Linked DNA regions of Homo sapiens: region 2 is linked to region 1. Evidence: promoter capture Hi-C in 16 types of primary human blood cells and fetal thymus (Javierre and others, 2016). All regions are on one chromosome and are shown on one strand. Each heading gives the region's core, a stretch centred on a gene start or on the middle of the fragment in contact. The rest is flanking DNA. Distances are from core to core; before and after follow the strand shown. Region 1 holds the start of SEC11A (SEC11 homolog A, signal peptidase complex subunit). Region 2 has its middle 18 kb from the start of PDE8A.

What was found. Contacts are between HindIII fragments. The CHiCAGO score rates a contact against its expected background, and 5 or more counts as called.
Region 2: a contact is called between a fragment that was not itself captured here and the fragment with the promoter of SEC11A in region 1, in 1 of 17 cell types (fetal thymus). The highest score is 5.6, in fetal thymus.

Annotation. Positions count from the first base shown.
Region 1 is chr15:84,714,298-84,717,635 of GRCh38, forward strand. SEC11A (SEC11 homolog A, signal peptidase complex subunit) reads right to left here and starts at 1,842. Exons shown (of 6, transcript NM_014300.4): 1 at 1,728-1,842. The coding sequence starts at 1,778. RefSeq lists enhancers at 1,495-2,060, 1,516-1,585, 2,061-2,626, 2,256-2,375, 2,396-2,505 and 1 more. The HindIII fragment of the contact is 22,021 bases long and covers 1-3,338 here.
Region 2 is chr15:84,961,549-84,965,371 of GRCh38, forward strand. It overlaps a transcript of SLC28A1 not described here. Among named protein-coding and RNA genes, the nearest start is that of PDE8A, 18 kb to the right of the region's middle. The HindIII fragment of the contact is 8,662 bases long and covers 1-3,823 here.

The DNA.
Region 1 (3,338 bases), core at 592-3,091:
GCCACCGCACCCAGTCTACCTTCTGTCTTAAGCAAATCACTAAAGCTCTCTAACAATGACATCGACCACAGTACAGCCAATACTCACCATGTGCCAGACACTCTTCTGAGGGCTTTATATGAATTAACTCATTTAATCTTCATAGCGACCCTACGTTTGCACAACATAGTGAATGCAACTAATGTCAGTGAAGTATACACGTAAAAACGGTTGAAATGGAATATTTTATGTTGCATATCTTTTTACAACAATAAAAGTAAACATAGGCACAGACAGGTTAAGTAATCTGCTCAAAGTCACACAGCCAGTAAGTAGCAGAGCTACTTCAAACCTCTGAAATCTAGCTTTAGAGTCCATATTCTTAACTTCTATACTGTATTGCTTCTCACAAAGTCTCATTTTCTTCATGTTTAATAAGAACAACGTTACCTACCTTACAGGTGTATAAAGTGCTTCACACATGGCAAGAGCTCAAAAAAGTTATTGTTTTGCCTTAGTCCTTTTCTACACATTTAGGCTCCTTGAAGGCCGAGTCTTTCTTAACTATCTTTGCATTTCTCTCATTGTACCTAGCATAGAGTACAATAAATATCAGACTCAAAATAAATACTTTCCTCAGAGAAATATCTGTGGCATCTAGAAATCCAAATATGGATTAAAAAAAGACAACACTATACAAGTAAAAATTTGAAGTGTTGTCATAAAGACATAAAGTAACGTTTGCGCAATTTTTATAGAATGCTCAATTCTGACTGACAGAATTGACACTGAGCTAGCTAAGGCCTGAAGGGGAGTAAGGAAAGGTTGTGTATCTACTTCCCTAAGTGGCAGTTATAAGTACAAAAAATGCAAGTCCAAGGAAAAAAAATCCTTAATGGTGACATCAGGATAATCATAACAGTAAAATACTGTTTAAAACAAAAAAAAAGTCCGATGCAGCAAAACTAGGCTCTACAGACACACTAGGCGCAAAAGATAAAACAGAACAACCTTTTCTAAGGACTAAATAATTACAACAATATTCTCAGTACTATTTGGCATACGATCTAGAAGATCAAAGTAAAGTGTAAGGACAAAATCAGGAGACCTACATTTCCAGATCCCCGTGGCACTGATATTGGACTGTAAAACCATAGATTCCGAGGGCTGCCGCCTTAGTGCTAAGCGGACGCAAGGGCAAGTAGTGTAACTGTTCCAACTCGGAGCCCAGAGTGGTCCAAGTCAAAGTCGGTGCAGCCCGCTACGGTTCAGCTCTACTAAAGGGTTGCAAGGAGCTGAAAGCAGCAAAACGGTTTTTGTGGGGCCTCCAATCGCCTTCCTGAGCGCCCCAGAAACCGGCTAAACCTCGTCTCTCCCGAAACCACCTGGAGTCGCTCCGACTGGAGAAATCAAGAGTCCGCCGCCTTAAAATGACTAAAACAATAAGCAACCCCAACTCCCACTTCAAGCGCGTACGGTTTCCATTTGCTCCCCTGCCTCAGTGGGAGGAATGGAACGTGAAGACACCGCTTCCCGCCCCGCCCCCGGTAGGCCCTGAATCAGTTCGGGGTTAAAAATAATGAGGCGGACAAGGCGGCCTCTGGCCACAGTCTCCAAAGAAAGCGAATGACCCGGGTATCAGACCAGCTCAGACCCTCACACCAGAACCCTGGGGTCCGCCGGGCCCCGCAGCAGCAGCCTCGAAGGGACAAGAAGAGCCAGGAGAAAAAGAGGACGGACAAGCTCACCTGCCGCTTGTTCATCCGCCGCACATCGTCCAAAAAGTCTAGAGACAGCATGGCGGGGACGGCGAGCAGGACACCGGCAGGGGAAAGGGCGCGATGACCAGCGGGCGGAACTACTGGAGCTCGGGTCGGGCTCACACTGGACAGGACCCCGCAGTGCTTGCACTTCCGCTTCCGGGGCGGGAGCTGGCACGGTCGGGCACGGTCCCCGCCCCCCGCGCCCCTTCGCTGCGGAGAGCTGACAGAGAGACTCACGACCTTGCTAGTCCAGTCTCAGGGCTTGGCCTCGCCGTGGGAGGGTTCTCACGCTCTGGCTCTCGCCTGCCAAAAACCGACTGGACGCCACTTCCCGCGCTCGGCCCCGCGGCCCTTCACCGAGGCGGCGACCCAGGCTTAGTTGGGGAGGCTGCTCTGCCACCTTCGGAAGGCGGGCCTCTGTGCCCGCCCGGCCAATCGCGAGCAACCTCTCCGGTGTGGGCGGGTAGAAGCGGTTCCGCGTCCCGGCTTGGGTATGGGTGTGGCAGTGGATGTGTCGTCTGACCGTAGGTTCTCTGGTCGAGCAAGTCTCCTGCGCTATGGGAAGCTGAGGAGGTGCTTTCTTTCTTTCTGTCTCTGTCTCTCTTTCTTTACGTCTCTGTCTCTGTTGAGGTGCTTGCTTGCTTGCTTGCTTACTTTCTGTCTGTCTGTCTCTTTCTCTTTTTCTTTCTCTTTCTCTCTTTCCTTTCTTTCTCACTGTGTCGCCCAGGCTGGAGTGCAGTGGCGCAATCTCAGCTCACTGCAACCTCCGCCTCGCGGGTTCAGGCGATTCTCCTGCCTCAGGCTCCCAAGTAGCTGGGACTACAGGCGCGCGCCACCAAACCTGGCTAATTTTTGTATTTTTAGTAGAGACAGGGTTTCACTATGTTGGCCAGGCTGGTCTCGAACTCTTGAGCTCAGGTGATCCGCCCGCCTTGGCGTCCCAAAGTGCTGGGATTACAGTCGTGAGCCACCGCGCCCGGCCATCGAGGTGCTTTCAATAAGTGCTTTTCGCGTAAGGTTGGACCGTGTGAGAGACCTTCCGAGCACTGCCTGAGCCTGCCAGGAGTTTACAGTCCAATTGGAGAGAAAACAGCCCGGGAGAATTAGAAAACATCCAAATGGTGCAACAGCGTGATGAGACCACCAGTGGTGTGGGTCGTTAGGAAGTGGCTTCCTTTCTGACCTTGACTTTGCTGACAGGATTTGACATGGTCTCCTTGAATTCTACCTCCTGGTTTTCTTAACTTGGACACCTTGAAGTGACTATCTTTTCGCTACCTTTTGCTTTGACTGGCCAAAGCTCCTAATACGCACTTCAGTCAACAAAGACTAAAGCTGGATTACTTGGTATCATTTCTCTCTCTTTTTTTTTTTTTTTTTTTTTTTTCAAAATAATCCTTCTCTCCCATTAGGGAAAGATGAATGAAGGATATACTGGAACTCTTTGTAGTATCCTCGAAATTCTTTAAATGGAAAGTCATTCCAAAATAAAAACTTGAATTTATTGGAGGATGGCTGTAATAAAAAAGACAAATAATAATAAGTTTAGGGGAAGATGTGAAGAAATTGGAACCCTCATATACTGCTGGTGGGAAT
Region 2 (3,823 bases), core at 1,120-3,619, 250 kb after region 1:
CAGGCTGGTCTTGAACTCCTGGCCTTAAATGATCCTACTGCCTTGGCTTCCCAAAGTGCTGGGATTACAGGTATGAGCCACTTTGCCTGGCTGAGAGATAAATCTTGATGGTCGTAAGACACTAAGATTCCGAGACTGTTACGGCAGCATCATTTAATGACAGTTAATTAATACAGCAGCAGTTTAAGGTGGTCCAAGTACTCCAAGATGTTGGGTGAGAGAAGCTCATGCCAGGTAAAGTCACTAACTAGGTGAGACAGCCAGGAAGAGTTTGGGATTCACAACGGCAGCACCTACGACAGAGATACTGCCCTTCATCAAACCACTGGGGCAAGATGATTCATTGAAATGTTACCCTGTGCTCATTTGGTTTACATTTGCTCCTCCCCTGGCTCTTTCAAGCAGAGAGTGAGTCCCTTGGTGTTTCCTTGCCTTGGGTATTTCTGGTGGTCAGAGCATAAAAGCTATCGGAAGTTGGTGGGTCTTTCTGTCTTTTGCAATAATCTTGACCTAAATTTTTTTTTAAATTTCTTAATTATTTTTAGAGACAGGGTCTCACTCTGCCACCCAGGCTGGAGTGCAATGGTGTGATCATAGCTCACTGAAGCCTCCAACTCCTGAGCTCAGGTGATCCTCCCGCCTAAGCCTCCAGAGTAGCTGAGACTACAAGTGCTCACCACCATGCCCGGCTAATTTTTCTTTTTTGTAGAGACAGAGATCTCGCTATGTTGCCCAGGCTTGTCTCGAACTCCTGGCCTCAGGTGATCTTCCCTTCTCAGCCTCTCAAAGTATTAGGATTATAGGTGTGAGCCACTGCACCCAGCCTTCGTTGACTCTTTATAGAGACTCTGTAAGGTGTCCTGGAAAGAGAAGAAAGAAAGGGTGGGCCTATGATTTTTTGTTTTTTGAGATAGAGTCTTGCTCCGTCGCCCAGGCTGGAGTATGGTGACATGATCAGGGCTCACTGCAACCTCCATCTCCTGGGCTCGGGTGATCCTTCCACCTCAGCCTCTGGAGTAGCTGGAACTATAGGTGCATGCCACCATGCCTGGCCAATGTTTTGTATTTTTAGTAGAGATGGGGTTTCACCATGTTGCCCAGGCTGGTCTCAAACTCCTAGTGCTGGGATTACAGATGTGAGTCACTGCACCAGGCCAAGGGTGGGCCTTTGAGAGCAGGAAGAAGGGAGAGGAAAAGATTTTTACCCCAGAAGGGAAAGGGGCAGAGTGTGACTAGGGCTGGGGGTAGGGAGGAAAGGTCTCAAACCTTGACTCTAGGCAGTGTCCAAAGGTGACAAGGCCTTAGAGGACATGGCTGCCTGGTACACTCAGGGAGAGTGGATCTGAGCACAGAGCTTTCGCCCCTCCCTCACAATTCCCACATTCCAAGGGTGACTCCAAATCAGCAGAGCCACCAAGCCTGAGGTGCCACAAGGCTGGGATGATGGATGTTCTGCATTTGCTAGTGTGACCAGTGGAGCCAGCCTGACGCCTCAGCACTGCCTAAGACCCTGGGACCTTGGCAAAATCTTGAGAATGGGGGAGGGAGACTCAACGATATGCCTGAGATTGAATTTCTTGCCAGCTCAGTGGGATAGTGGCTTAGAGTCAGATTTAAATTGAATTAGAAAAAATCAAGAAACAGGCCAAACCACTCCAGCCTTGCAATCCCTCGGGCTATCCCTAGCCACACCCCTTACTCTCATGCTCACCAACAAGCAGTGCCTACCACCACTGGATGCCCCATGTGACCCATAGCTGAGGATCTTTATACACCCTCTCCCCAGGAGTGGGCATCCACTTGTGTTTCCCTGGACAGGGAGCTTCCAATCTTCCATCCTGAGGTCCTGCTAGAATGGGCTGTTAGAATATTCCCTCACTAGATAGAGGGGTGGGGAAGCAGGAGTCCAGTTTCAGAAGCAGGGAAGGGACTACAGTCATAGCGAGTGGTGGACACGTGGCGGAGGGTGGGACACCCTTTCACAAAGTGGCCCATCACACCACAACACAGTATGGGACAGGGCTGGCTTCTCTTCAGCTCTGGCATGGCCAGGGAGGGTACCTACCTGGGGTCCAGCTGCCCCCCCGAGCCTGTCTATCAGCCATTGTACACCAGGCCAGTCCATGATGGGGTTCACCCAGGATGAGACCTGGACAGCAGCTGAGCCATGCAGAGCAAGTGGGTGGTTAAGAGGCAGATGGTCCAGTTGGTGCTTTCAGGCAAAGTGCCAGCTCCTCATCATGGCTCATGAGGATGCTTAGATCCAGCCCCTGATGACCCCCTATTTCACCTCTAGCCATTTCCTAGCACAGCGCCTCCTCTGTCCTAGCTCCAGCCTCACTGAGCTGCTTTCAGTCCCTTGAAGGAGTTGCACTCTCCTTCCTCTCGGCTCTTCCACAGGCTGCTCCAGACGCTTGACCACTCCTTTCTTTCATGTACCTAATTCCTACTCATCCCTCAGGACCCAATGTGGCTGTCTTCTCTAGGAAGCCATCTGAACTTATAAGTTGAGTTAGGAGTCTGTTCTGGACCTCCCACAGCACCCTGATTCTCCTGTCTTGGCCCCTGTCATACCTTGTGAAGTCTTGTTTAATCATCTATCTCATACATGTCAGTATGCTTCTGGGGGAAGGAAATGTGTCCATCTTGTTTAAAACAGTATCTTTAGGGCTTGATGTCTAGTGAGGGAGGAAGGGAAGGGGAAGGAAACGATAAGGGCATGGGAAGGAAGGATGGAAGGAAGGAGGGAAGGAAGAAGAAAAGAAGAGAAACAGGGAAGGAGGCAAGGAAGACATTGAAGGAAGATTGCCCACTCCTTTCAGGGCACTCATTGCCCCAACAGATCTTCCCAGCAGGAGCAGCTGCACAGAGATCACCTATTCCTTCCTCTCACTCAGTAGGAGACATGCTCTTTATTGGTTAGAATGATTGACATTACCCAATATCAATTGCAAGTAACAGTGCATTCAATAGAAAATGGTTTACATGATGTGAGATTTTTAATATCTCACATAGTAGCAACTCCAGGGGTAAGTGGCTCCAGGGTTAATCCAGGCATCAATGATGGTACCAGGGACCCTGGCTCTTGCCACCTCTCTGCTCTGTTATTTTGATTTTATCCTTGGATTGACCCCTTGTGGTCACAAGATGGCTGCTGAAGTTCTGGACATTACACCCAGACAGGGCCATGACTAGTAGAAAAGGCTTTTCCTCCCATGCATTCATTAGATGGGAAGAATCTTTCCACAGAAGCCCCAGCAGATATTTCTTTCTATCCTGGGATTAAGCCAGAGGCCCATGCTGTAGCTGCAAGGGAGGCTGGAAAAGCAAGTGCGTCTGCAGCTGGAAGCAGACTGCCAACATAGGAGCAGGAGGGAATGATTGATGCTTCCCTCTTTGTCTTACCTGTAAGGCTTGAGACTTCCTTGCCTTTGAAGATCCTCAGTATGGAATGCCAGTGCTTGGACCTTGATATGGTTTGGCTGTGTCCCCACACCCAAATCTCATCTTGAATTATAGTTCCCATAACCCCACGTGTCATGGGAGGGACCTGGTGGAAGGTAATTGAGTATTGGGGGTGGTTACCCCCATGCTGTTCTCATGATAGTGAGTTGAGTGAGTTCTCACAAAATCTGATGGTTTTATAAAGGGCCTTTCCCCCTTTGCTTGGCACTTCTCCTTCCTCCCACCATGTACAGAAAAATGTGTTTGCTTCCCCTTCTGCCATGATTGTAAGTTTCCTGAGGCCTCCCCAGCCCTGCAGAACTGTGAGTCAATTAAACCTCTTCCCTTTATAAATTACCCAGTCTCAAGTATTTCTTCA